2 separate regions of the Homo sapiens genome follow, and region 1 is linked to region 2. The links are contacts of gene promoters, found by promoter capture Hi-C in human tissues and cell types (Jung and others, 2019). All regions are on one chromosome and are shown on one strand. Each heading gives the region's core, a stretch centred on a gene start or on the middle of the fragment in contact. The rest is flanking DNA. Distances are from core to core; before and after follow the strand shown.

Region 1 (6,522 bases), core at 3,497-5,996, 1.2 Mb before region 2:
CTTAGACCTGGAGAGGTGTGTACTTCACTTGTCTAAGCCCCTGCCAGCCCACAAGAGTAATAGCCCAGTTGACCCTTACCATTTCATCGTAGGTTCTGTTATCTGCTACAGGGAAAACAGTCTCGCCCCCACCAGTGACGTTGTTCAAATAAAACAGCACTGTCATGTAGCTGTAAGGCAGGGGGGGCACTGAGCAGGTCCCCAGTTGTGGATGCTCCCAGGGGCTTACCTGTGGGCAGGATAAGCTGCCCAGGTTCCTGTTGCCAGGGACCAGGACAGACTAGGATGGGAGACAATAGGGCAGGCCAGTGCCAAAATGTCCCTAGCCCCTCCTTCCCCGAAACCCAGTCTCTTACTGTGAGTTGCAATGGTTTTTTGGCCAAGATCACAGGTGCACTTAGTTAAATGCCATGGCCCTGAGCAAGGGCCTGGCAGGGAAAGGTAGGCTAGCAGAAGCAACAGGGCGCGCTGAAGGGCTCCTTGGGGATGGGAAGGGGCTGGGCCAGAACAGCCACCTGAAGAGGAAAGAACTGGCTTGACAGGGGAGGGAGGCACAGCTTCAGCTTCTCTAAGTGGAATCAAGATCAACACCTGGAGGAATGGGCAGGACAAGCTAGGGGCCCAGCCTTGCCCCTTGCTTCAGAACTCAGGGGGCAAGTTTTGGTGTCTGTGGGTACATCAGTCTGTGTTGACTCCAGTGGTCACGATGACCAGTAGCCACCCCTTTCCAGCCATTGGGTAAACAACTTGTGGGGAGAGGTGAGGGCATCACTAACCGGGATAACCCAGTGATCTCCTGGCCCCATGCCAAGGGGCACGCCCACAGTGCAGGGCTGTGCCTGTGTCATGGGTGTTCCTGGTCTGAGGATTGAAGGCAGCCCCCAGTTGGGAGATACTTGCCGGCAGGAGGTCTCGAAGGGTACAGACTCGTTGGCTACCAGCTTGGTATGGGAGCAGATGGTCTCTGGGTACACAGGCCCACTGTCCACGTGGGCATGGTAGTGGCCCCCCTCACCATATCGAACAACCTGCAGCGGCTCGCTGAGCTCCACGATCTCAGGCGACAGGCGAGTGAGGCGCAGCACCCTGGTGGGCAGCAGGCATTTGGCTGGGCAGCCCCAGGCAAGGTGGTGATCTGAAGGAGCTGGCCAAGGTGGACCCTAGGCCTGCCACAAGCTTTGCCCCTACCCACCTCCCCTGGAAGTCCCTTAAGCCATCTCAGACTGGCCCTGTAAGAGCAGGAGGGGGTTACTCATGATGATCCTTCTCCCTCAGATGCCAAAGACAGAGACACCTGCTATGTGGAAATGTTGACATTTCCACTAAATAAAGGGGGCGGGGAGTCCTGAGGTCCTCCTCCCTGGAAGAAAGTTGTTTATTTAAAAACCCTTTTCCTGCTGTGACGGGGTCAGATAAGGGGTCAAAGATAAGAGGTCATTTATCTAATCAGAAAGAAGTGCTCAATCTCTATCTAACCCCAGTTGCCCATTGTGTGCCTGCAAGGAGGGCTAATTTGCCTTTGTTAATTGCCTGTCTTTCAGTGGGTCCCAATCCTGGTCTAACAAATGGAACTTAATCCCAAATGGGTTAATCCATTCTGTCCTCTTGGCCCCAGACAAGGACTTCTGTGGAGGCCCTGCCCAGTCTTCTCCCCCTGCTCCAGTGAGAACAGCTTCAGGTGCTCACCTCTGGCGGATGGCACGCATGATGTGGTGGGCACCCTCACCCTGGTAGAGCCAGGTATGGTGGCTGTTCCGCACCAGCTCACTGGACTCTGCCTTGTGGCTCCTCATGTACTTGTGGAAGTCCCGAAGGTCCATGTTGGAGAACTCCTGCAGACTCAGCACTCCTGCACAGGGCACCCACCATCAATGCCCACCAAGCCCATATTGGGAGGCAACAGTGGCAGGCTGCACTTCCCTACCTACCCCAAAGGCAGCAGCAGCCCCTGACCTCAGGCACTGAGGGGCCTTGTACACTTGTCCCCCACCTGGACTTTTGGGTCAGATGAACCTGGTTTCTGTCACATCAGGCCTTACAGGAAGACCCAGAGCAGTTCCTTTTCTCAGTTTAAGCCCTAATTTGGCCCTAAGAAGAAAGAGGCCCACCCCCTATTAGAGTGGCCAGAGAAGGTTCTCCAAAGGAAGCTTGAGCCATATGGCCAGGACCCTGGCCTTCCAGCCTGGCTATATAGAGTGGTGGCCACTCTCCGGCCTGTGGAGGGTGAGGAGAGAGCAGGCAGTGCTGGGCCTCATCCAGGGCCTTACATACATACGCCAGGGTGCAAGCAGGGCCAGCCCCCGGGGAGTTCCTCATGACCCCAGGTTTCATCCTGGGTGGAACCTACTTCGCCAGCCCTGCCTACTGCGTTACCAGCCCACCTTAGCAACGAAAGTCAGGCCACCCCCTCTCATGAGAACATTCTCCACTGTCCCTGCTCAAACCATTAAGCAGGGGTTCTACCCTCTTGGGGTTCTGGAAGAGTAGTTGGTATCTTTGCTCCATGTTATTCTGGCTGACCCAAGGACATCACCTTCCACTCTTTGGCCCAGATTCCTCTGAGGGTGGGGGACATTCAAGGGCTGTGAGACTGTCACCACCTCTGTTCTGGGGCCTATAGCAGTGTGGCAGCCATCCAGCCACAGGTCACGGCCAGATTCTTCACTCTGGTTCACCAGCCGCAAAGCCACTGTTCCAAGTCCTTTCTAACTGCTGTATCTTCCTCTCTTGGTCCAGAATTTGGGCATGAGGGTGATGACCACACCTCAGAAACCTCCTGAGAGTTATTACCAGAGGGGGCACCACTTGCATGACAGCTTCCCTGCCCACCCCTCCCCAGCAGTTAGCACAGGTAGCAGCACTACCATTTTAGGCGCTTCGGCATGACTCCAGGTGGACAAGAGGAAGGCAAGGGAGATCTCACTTAGACCAGGGAAGCTGTCTGCTGGGGTGGACCTCGTGTCTGGCTGGAGAGATGGATGGAGCAGGGTAAACAGCCAAGCTCTAGCTGGCCTCACTGTCGCCTTGCTCCTGCTCCACCCACTCTGTTCTCTGCCAACTAGCAGCCCTACTTCCTGTCCCCAGGCTCTCAACTCTGCCTGATGTTATCAAAAGGGTCTCCAAGAACTGCCCTCGAGACCATCACCAAGGGGAACGGGGGGCCTGGCTGCCTGCCTACTTCCCAGGGGTAAAAAGCAAGGCTGGATCTTCACCTCCCCATCTCTGGCCACTATAAAGGGGTGCAGAGAGGCTGCCTGGCTGTGGGGGAAGGGCCCAAGTTTTCAAAATTGTGCACCTGGGAGTGGGCAGGAGGCTCACGGGGATAGGACTGTGCAGAGGTGTGAGCTCACCGTCACCATCAGGGTCAGCCTTGATCGCGGCGTACATCTCCTGAATGCTCTCTGGAGTCATCCACCATCCATTTCCCAGGCGAGTCTGGGCCAGAACCTAAAGCATAAGAGGGTCCCTCAGTGGGTGACCCCAGTGATGGAGAGCCAGCAGAGAACAGATGGCCCAGTGCTTGTTGTGGAGCAAAGTGTTCAGGTGAGGGCATGGATGAGGACACAGGGCAGAGCCCATTGGGCCAAAGTGAGTGCAGGTAGAAAGGTACAGAGCATCTGAGGAGAAGGCCGGGGGCTGGGGGTCAAGAGGCGTAGGCCATTTGCATTCCCGGACTAAGGCCCCGTGGCCTTCATGGAGAGCACTGTTGGTTGGAAGCAGAGTGAAGGACAGGCCTGTGTCCCACTCAGATACTCCGGGTGAGATGGGGAAAGCCAAGTCCTGGGTGTTAAGGGAGAACAGGCACCAGGGGGAGACCTGGTTAGGGCATGACCACCAGATCCCTCAGAAAGACCAGGCTCAGTGGGGTGTTCTGTGTGGGCAGTGCCCCGCACCACCACCCTGCCAGACTTCTCTCAGAAGCTTGGCCCTCCAGCCTGGCTGTAGAGTGTGTGAGAGTTATGCAGAGAGAGAGGCAGGCTGCTGGCCACCTCAGAGCTGCCACCCCATCCACCATGAGTTCTGTGGGGCCCCCAGCCATGAGAGCAAGGAATGCAGGCTACAGAGGTGCATCCCTCCAAAACTATGGTGATAAATGCCATCACCCCCAGGTGGATTCTCCTGCCATCTTCTGAGGTTCCCAGGGTAGCCAAGAGCTCTCCAGAGGGAAAGGGGACCTCCTGGGTCTGGGCATGCCCAGGCAGGTCTGGGTAGTATCTGACTTTTGGGACCAGGCCTGGGCTGGACAAGTGACCTGGCCACCAGAAAGGTGATTCTGGGCACTCCCACCCTGAGCCTACTCAGGTCCCAGGATTCCAACCTCACGGAGCTGAAGGTGCCCATCACGGTTCTGGTCCAGCAGCCGGAAGAGGTCCAGCTGGCTGACCTGCATAGTGCTCATTGCCTCTTCATACTCTTCAGTAGGCAGGATCTGGCTGCGCTGTAACCCCTTCATCTGCGCCAGATGGATGATGAGCCGACACTCTTCATCAGTCAGGAAGCCGGGGATTTCTGCCAGAAGAGGAGGTGGGTGAGGCCAAGGACTGAGCCAGGGCGCTGGTGCACCCAGTACCTTCCTCCCTTCAGGGTTCCTGGGGTACTGCATGTCCCTCAGTGGCCACCAGGTCTGGAGGATGGAGGATTTTACAGACCCCTTGATTCTGACTTGTCAAGATTGAGTTGTCCTGCAAAGGCTGGCTGGCGTTGGAAATGTGGGACCTCTCTTGATGATGAGAGCACACATTTTCCAGGAGAGCCCTGGGAGGTGAGCCAGAGCTAACCTGGATATGGGCTGACCCATCTTTGGGTTGGGACTGAAGGCTAGAGAGTGATCCTGAAGGGCAGAGGCTTGATTGCTACTTTTTACTGGGTATAAATATTTAAAGTGGGGAGATGGTGGCTGCTTCTTGCTTTCATTTTAACTTTTCAGCATTATTCAAATAAAAACAGCACAAGACATCCAATGTTTCAGGCCAGTCCAAGGGCCTTCCCCTCCAATTTCCTGCAAAGATGGGTGCTGGCCATCTGACCAGGGCTGAGTTGCCCAGTGCTGGAAGATCAGTGAGGGTTACTCAGGTTTTGGGCAGATACTGGTCTCTGAAAAGATGTCCCAGGTGTCCTTTGCTTCCTTGATTCCTTCCCTGGTACAAATGTTCACTTAGTGCCTACTCTATGCCTCTACACCCCTGAGTAAAGATCAGTCAGGCCTGGGGCTTGGCTTCAGTGGCTGGCTGCCTGCACACCAGGCACAGCTGGTAGGTGGCTTGGTGGAGCTAGAACCTGAGCCTCACATCTAGGGAGCCCACATTCTGGTAGCCCCAGACACTTCCAGAGCAGGAGCATGGGCCCTGCTTCCTTCCCTTGTTCCTGGGAGAGCGGTCTTCACTGGAGGACAAGAAGCACGCAGAGGAGCTGACTGGAGGAAGGGCAGCACTGCTACCTGCGGAGTGGCCTGCCGCTTCTCTCAGTTACACTTCCAGCACAAAGTTCCAGTCATTGCCAAGAGGAAGGAAAATGGTCACTCAGCACCAGGGTTGGAGCTTTTTTTATTTTTTTATTTTTTGTAGAGATGGAGTCTCCCTATATTGCCCAGGCTGGTCTCAATTTCCTGGGTTCAAGCTATCCTTCCACCTCGGGCTCAAAAGTGCTGGGATTATAAGCATATGCCACCACACCTGGCCTGGAGTGGTTTTTAATAGTAATTACAGCAGAAAATACTTAGGTAGCACAGACTCTGCCCAAGGCACTGTCCTAAGCACTTCATACACATCAACTCCTTAATCCTTATACTTACCCTAGGAGGCCAGGCCCCATTAATTCAACCTTCCTATCTAAGAGGAAACCCAAGCACAGAGAAATCAGTGCCTTGCCACTGGCCACCCAGCCTGCTGTGTTCCAGAAACCATGCTCATGACCAGATTCAGCTACTAGGAGCAGGTGACCCTGATGTGATAACACTGAGGATAGGACAAAGGCCCCCACTCTTGGCCTGCATGATCCCGTGACCCCAGCAAACCCAGAAAGGGTGTGATCCAAGGGGAGACAGCCCTGTGGAACAATGGATTAGATCAAATTGCAAATCAACAGAGTCACCTCTTGATTGCTTAACACACAAAATTTAAAAAGAAAGAAAAAGGAAGCCAGAAAAAGAAAAGAAAACACAGGCCCAGGTTTCTTCAGTTTATTAGGTGCCAGTAATCTGCAAGCCCAGTGGAGGTGCCTCCAGCCTCTACAGTCCCCTGCTGTGTGCTAATCAAAAACAAACAGCCCAGTCAGCATGTTGGGGCCTCACCAGGTGGGTCCGGGCACCTCGGAGCTGTGCAAACCCCTGCAGGATCTCCTCTGTTGGCTCCCTGGGTGCAGGAACAGCCCTATAAAACCCTCAACCTCAGTTCATTAAGGCCAAGGCACAGAAGGCAGTGATGGAGCAGGGGCTGTGGCTGCTGGTGACACTGGTGATGCTGTGGGATGACAGCAGGGTCAGGGGCTCCCTGGGGCTGCATGAGGTGCATGCCCATTCCCCAA
Region 2 (6,581 bases), core at 442-2,941:
AGAAAGTTTCAAATTAAAAACTTTTTTTTTCAGACGAGTTTGGCTCTGTCGCCTAGGCTGGAGTGCAGTGGCGTGATCTCAGCTCACTGCGATCTCCACCTCCTCCTGGGTTCAAGCAATTCTCCTGCCTCAGCCTCCCGAGTAGCTGGGATTACAGGCATGCACCACCACACCTGGCCAATTTTTGTAGTTTTAGTAGAGACGGGGTTTCACCATGTTGGCCAGGGTGGTCTGGAACTCCTGACCTCGTGATCAGTCTGCCTTGGCCTCCCAAAGTGTTGGGATTACAGGCGTGAGCTATCTCGCCTGGCCCTCTTGATCACATTCTATTAACTTTTTTATTTAATATATTTTACTGTCCGTGACACAGCCCTCAGGAGATCCTGAAAACATGTACACACCCTCATTTTTAAAAGATCTCAGAAACTTACCAGCAGTTAGTCACGTTCTCACAAGCAATTAGTTACTTGCTTCTCTGCGATCATATAGCATTATGTTCACAACTCCATTATGGCCAGTCATACTTTTTATGTTTCTGAAACAGGGTTTCGCTCTGTCGCCCAAGCTGAAGTGTAGTGAGTGGCGCGATTATAGCTCACTGCAGCCTCCATCTCCCCAGCTCAAGGGATCCTCCCACCTCAGCCCTCCAAGAGGCTAGGACCACAGGCTTGCAACACAACGCTGGCTGATTTTTGTATTTTTTGTAGAGACGGGGATGGGTGTGGTGGTCTAGAGCTCCTGGGCTCAATTGATCCTCCCGCCTCAGCCTCCCAAAGTGCTCCGCACCCGGCCAATATACCTTGTTAATAATTTAAAAATTTTCGGCTTCTATGTGGGCCATTCATTAACTCATCAAGTATTTACTGTACATCTGTTCCTTGTCTCAGGTGTTCAGGATACACCTGTGAACAAGTTAAGATTAGGTTCTCATGTAATTTATGTGGAAGGTAAATGAGAAACTAGAAACGCCGGGTCGTGGTGAGCGCTATGCAGAAAGTGTATGGGTGTGAACAGTTGTTCAAGATTGTTAAGATCTGACAACTACTTTCTGAAGTCCTTTGAAGCAGTGAATCTGAACGCGTCTCGTAAGTGCAAATCAGAAGGGAAGACCTGCTGAGGTCTCGAAAGAGCCAGTGCAAGGGCCCCTGGGGCAGGAATGAGCCGCTGTGGCTGGACCCCTGAGGGAGTGGAAGGTCTGTGAAGCCGAAAAGCCTAGGCGTGGGAGTCCCAGATGGCTGTTCACAAATGCCGCCGGGCCGCTGGGGGTGGAGGGCCTGAGGGAAAGCGGGGCCCGGCGCAGTCCCAGTCCGGGTGCAGGGCCCTCGGCCAGCACTCGATACCCTAGACAGGCTTTCCCTTGGGCATTTCTCGCACCAGGCCTTTTCCCTCCAGCGGAGGCGGGCTATGACACATAACCCACCTGCGGTTGTTGACCGCATAATGATTCGACGTCGGTAGCGAGGGAAGAGCAAGGCTCAAAAACCGGCGCTCACTAGGGCAGAATGCAGCCTACGGAGGATGGCGGAAGAGGCGGCTGAGGCCGCAGGACGTGCTATTCCAAGGCACGGCCGCACGAGTGCTACGCATGCGCGTGCGCTGGCTCGCGTCAGATACAGTGCCAGTTCCCAGATGGGGCGGGGCCGGGCGTCCGCGCCGGAAGAGGGTTGGCTGGGCGGGGCCGGGAAGCGGCAGTGGCGGCTACGCGCGCGGGGGTGCGCGCGGGAACGACCGGGAAACACCGCGAGGGCCGGGGTGGGCCAGGCTGTGGGGACGACGGGCTGCGACGATGGCCGCAGCGGCGGGCGGCGGCGGGCCGGGGACAGCGGTAGGCGCCACGGGCTCGGGGATTGCGGCGGCAGCCGCAGGCCTAGCTGTTTATCGACGGAAGGATGGGGGCCCGGCCACCAAGTTTTGGGAGAGCCCGGAGACGGTGTCCCAGCTGGATTCGGTGCGGGTCTGGCTGGGCAAGCACTACAAGAAGGTGGGTTCGCGCGCCCGTGGGGGCCGGGAGACCACGCGACCGGGGCCGGAGGCGGCAGCTGGCCTCGCGGGCCTCGGGCCGCCCCTCCCCCCCGCACGCCACGAGGGACAACAAAGGCAGGCGCCGGGCCCGCCACGCCCCCGCCGCCCGCTCTGGGCGCCCGCGATCCCGGGGCCTGACTGGGGTTCGGGGCTCTCTCCTCTGAGCCTACGCACCCATGGTGAAAGCCCCTGCTCAGTCTCGTGTGCCAGAGCAGGTCGAGCTCAGCCACTAAGCGAGTGTGACTCTCTCTCTTTTGTCAGCTGCCTTAGGTGTGTGAACAATGATCCCTAAAGACCGAGCAAGCGTGGTAAAAGCAGCTTCAAGTTTTGTTTAGAGCGTATTCAAAGTCTCGAGGGGGTTTGCTACCTGTTGTTGAATTGCTAAACGACTGGGATGATTGTATTCGTTAATTAATAACAGGCAATATGAATTCTAGGATGGATGAGAACTATTAACGACGGTTCTACCTCATCGTGCTTCTGGTTCTGTGTGGCGTGAGAGTTGATGGTCGCTTGTACGTAAAGTGTTCTAAAGGGAGGCCTTCCCCAAGAACCCAGTTTTTATTAGAGCACTTTTCTTGTGTCACCTTTATTTTCTTCGTAGTGTTTACCACATTTTGAAATTATTCATTTACTGATTTCTCCTACCTTTGGAACGGAAGTTCCGCCGAGTCAGTAGTTTTCAAAGTTTTGACTTAATCCTTTGTTTATAACAAATGTTTTTTTTTTTTCCAACTTCCCTTTTGTGTAAATATTCAGGAGGACTCCCTTAAAGGGTGTAATGAAGCAGGTAGCCGAAAAGGCTCCCCAGCCTCTGAAGTTTTCCTATCACCCTCTTTAGTTCTGTACTTTCTCCTATTGAGAATCATAGCACTGAAGCAAGGGCTTTGTTCACTGCAGTGTATCCGGGAACGTGGCTGATACTTATTGCCTTACCCTTAGTGGCTGCTTAGTAAATATTTGTTGAATGAATGAAAACATAAACTAGTTTAGGAACCTATTTTTTTGGCCTCAGCAGCTCAGTGAAGCCTGTCAGTGTTTGGCAGTTATTAGGCATGGGCAGGGATCTTGGGTTCCTTTGGCATTACACGTGGTACATTCAGAAATGACCATTTCTGGCCGGGCGCGGCTTGGAAGGCCGGGCGGGTGGATCACCTGAGGTCAGGAGTTCGAGACTAGCCTGACCAACATGGTGAAACCCCGTCTTTCCAAAAAATACAAAATTAGTCGGGTGTGGCAGCACATGCCTGTAATCCCAGCTACTCGGGAGGCTGAGGCAGGAGAATCTCTTGAACCCAGGAGGCAGAAGCTGCAGTGAGCCGAGATTGCACCATTGCACTCCAGCCTAGGTAATAAAGTAAGACTGTCTCCAAAAAAAAAAAAAAAAAAAAAACAAAAAAAAACCAAAGACCCAGAAATGATCATTTCTTTCTTTCTTGTTTTTGAAGGTCAGCTAGAAAAATTACATTTCTTATCTGAAGTTTGAGGAAGTGAGAGACAGTAATTATATTTTTAGGTGTCTGGACTTTTCCTCCTCTGAAATTACATTTAGACTGTAGATTTTTAGTAATATTGCCCTTTCTTACACAGTGATAAATTGGTCACTTTTTAAATGTAAGTAATAGAGCTTCCAGAAGTGGCTAATGGAATTGAATATGTTATGAAAATATTGGTTAATTCTTCTTTATTACATTCCTTTTAGCCAATGCTTTGGGTCTTAAATTCAGTGAAGCTTTAACAAAGAAAAATAATCTACAGGCATATTCCTTTGAATAATATCAAGGAAGAGAGTAGAAAAAGGCAAATTTCAGTAATTTCTACCTCTCCGCACTGTTCAGTGTGCATCAGTTTGGGATCAACTACAAGAAGCTTTAGACATGGATAATCCTTCGATATTTGTTTGGGTGGGTAGGGAAGTGGCTACAAAGCAGTTTGAGGAATTGCCCAGCAGTATTGAGACCACTAGGCTAATGTTGATTCACTATCCCTGAGACTTTATAGACAAAGTTACCTTTGACTTCTCAGGACTTTGTAAAGCCAGAGTGTATTTCTAGGGTCTACTGAGATTGAGAAACGTATATACCCTAGGCCTGACAGCCAGAATCTTTTCAGTCTCTGGGTGTTAGCGTTGAAGTGGTGAAAATATTATCACAAAGTTCTTTGCTTCTTTTCTACACAGTGCATTTCTATTTGGTGTACGCATTGGTTTTAACTAACCGTTTCTAGTGCATTTAATACTGCATTTTCAGAGCAGACAACAGTTTCAGTCTCAGTAAACATGATTTTGTTAGTGTCATTTTTTATTTATTTTTATTTTACTTTATTTTTTTGAGACAGGGTCTTTCTGTGTTGCCCAGGCTGGAGTACAGTGGCGTGATCATAGCTCACTGCAACCTCAAACTCTTGCATTCAGCTCATGCATTCAGTGAACAACTGAGCATTTACCATGTGCCGGGTACTTAAAGTATAACTCACTTAAAGTCCTCATAGCAGTCCTAAATGATAGATATTATTTACCTTCTTTTTCAAATGGAAGATACCTGAGACTTCATTTAGGAATTTTCTTTTTTTTTTGAGACAGGGTCTTTCTGTGTTGCCCAGGCTGGAGTGCAGTGGTGAGATCATAGCACACTGCAGCCTCAACCTCCTGGGCTCAGGTGATTCTCCCACCTCAGCCTCCTGAGTACCTGGGACTACAGGCACGAACCACCACACCTGGTTAATTTTTTGTATTATCAGTAGAGGCAGGGTTTTGCAGTGTTGCCCAGGCTGGTCTCGAACTCCTGGGCTCTCTGCCTGCCTCAGCCTCCCAAAGTGCAGGGCTTACAAGTGTGAGCCACCACACTTGGCCCACACTGACTCTTACTTGAAATATTTTGAGACTAATAAATTTTTGTTTTCTTAAATAAAATATAATAGACTTTTTTTGATCAAAAGATTAATTGGGCCAGGTGCAGTGGCTTGCGTCCGTAATCCCAGCACTTGGGAATTCCAGGTGGGAGGTTCATTTGAGCCCAGGATTTGGAGACCAGCTTGGGCAACATGATGAGACCCTGTCTCAAAACAAAACAAAACAAAAAAATACATCAGTTGTGGTGGCATGCACGTGTAGTCCCAGCTACTTGGCTGAGGCAGGGTCCTTGGAGGATCACTTGAGCCTAGGAGGTCGAGGCTGCGGTGAACTGTGTTGGCACCATTGCACTCCAGCCTGGGCAACAGAGCGAGACCTTGTCTCAAAACAAAACGAAACAAAACAAAACAAAAAACAAAAACAAAAAAAAACCAGATTAATTGTTTATGACATAGAAATTAAAATTTCTTAATTAGGAGTCAGTGTTTTTTTTGTTTTTTGTTTTTTGTTTTTTTTTTTTGAGATGGAGTCTCGCTCTTCTGCCCAAGCTGGAGTGCAGTGGTGTGACCTCGGCCTCCCAAGTTGAAGTGATTCTTCTACCCCAGCCTCTTGAGTAGCTGGGATTACAGGCACCCGCCACCACGCTCTGCTAATTTTTGTTATTTTTAGTAGAGCTGGGGTTTCACCATGTTGGCCAGGCTGGGCTTGAACTCCTGACCTCAGGTGATCCGCCAGCCTCAGCCTCCCAAAGTACTGGGATTACAGGCATGAGCCACTGTGCCTGGCCTACATGCATTTTCATGTTTGGTAATTTGGTAGGATGATTTGGAAAAAAAATCTAATCAGAATTAAATATTTTATAGTTTATTAAAAATTGGACTGAGACTGGGGGCTGTGGCTCACACCTGTAATCCCAGCACCTTGGGAGACCGAGGCCGGTGGATCACCTGAGGTCAGGAGTTCGAGACCAGCCTGGCCAATGTGGTGAAACTTCTGCTCTACTAAAAATGCAAAAATTAGCCGGGTGTGGTGGCACATGACTGTAGTCCCAGCTACTCAGGAGACTGAGGCAGGAGAATCACTCAAACCTGGGAGGTGGAGGTTGTAGTGAGCTGAGATCGGGCCATTGCACTCCAGCCTAGGCTACAGAGCGAAAGTGTCTCAAAAAATAAATACATAAATAGAGACAGGGTCTTACTGTGTTGCCCAGACTGGTCTCAAATTTCTGGACTCAAAGTAGTCCTCTAACCTCGTCCTCCCAAAGTACTGGGATTACAGTCATGAGCCACTGCACCCGGCCTATATTCACTGTAGTTATTAAAAATATAGGCCGGGCATGGTGTCTCACGCCTGTAATCCCAGCACTTTGGGAGGCCAAGGCGGGCAGATCACCTGAGGTCGGGAGTTTGAGACCAGCCTGGCCAACATGGTGCAACCCCGTCTCTACCAAAAATACAAAAATTAGCCAGGCGTGGTGGCGTGCGCCTGTAATCCCAGCTACCCAGGAGGCTGAGGCAGGAGAATCGCTGGAACCCGGTGGGCAGAGGCTGCAAGTGAGCCGAGATTACGCCACTGCACTCCAGCCTAGGTGACAGAGCAAGACTCTCTCAAAAAAAAAAAAATAAATATTTACCTGAGGCCAGGTGTAGTGGCTCACGCCTATAATCCCAGCACTTTGGGAGACCGAGGCAGGCGGATCATCTGAGGT

What was found. Contacts are between HindIII fragments. The study calls those that stand out against the background at their distance.
Region 1: a contact is called between a fragment that was not itself captured here and the fragment with the promoter of SMARCC1 in region 2, in 1 of the 25 tissues and cell types used here (aorta).

Annotation. Positions count from the first base shown.
Region 1 is chr3:48,999,425-49,005,946 of GRCh38, reverse strand. P4HTM (prolyl 4-hydroxylase, transmembrane) reads right to left here. Exons shown (of 9, transcript NM_177939.3): 3 at 4,319-4,509; 4 at 3,351-3,447; 5 at 1,687-1,849; 6 at 901-1,086; 7 at 80-170. It overlaps LOC124906235 (a long non-coding RNA gene), which reads right to left. Exons shown (of 2, transcript XR_007095904.1): 2 at 6,164-6,522. Among named protein-coding and RNA genes, the nearest start is that of WDR6, 4.7 kb to the left of the region's middle. The HindIII fragment of the contact is 8,927 bases long and covers 283-6,522 here.
Region 2 is chr3:47,777,003-47,783,583 of GRCh38, reverse strand. It overlaps SMARCC1 (SWI/SNF related BAF chromatin remodeling complex subunit C1), which reads left to right and starts at 1,691. Exons shown (of 28, transcript NM_003074.4): 1 at 1,691-1,981. The coding sequence starts at 1,787. RefSeq lists silencers at 948-1,007, 1,118-1,167, 1,578-1,797, 1,978-2,217 and an enhancer at 1,451-1,745. The HindIII fragment of the contact is 21,057 bases long and covers 1-6,581 here.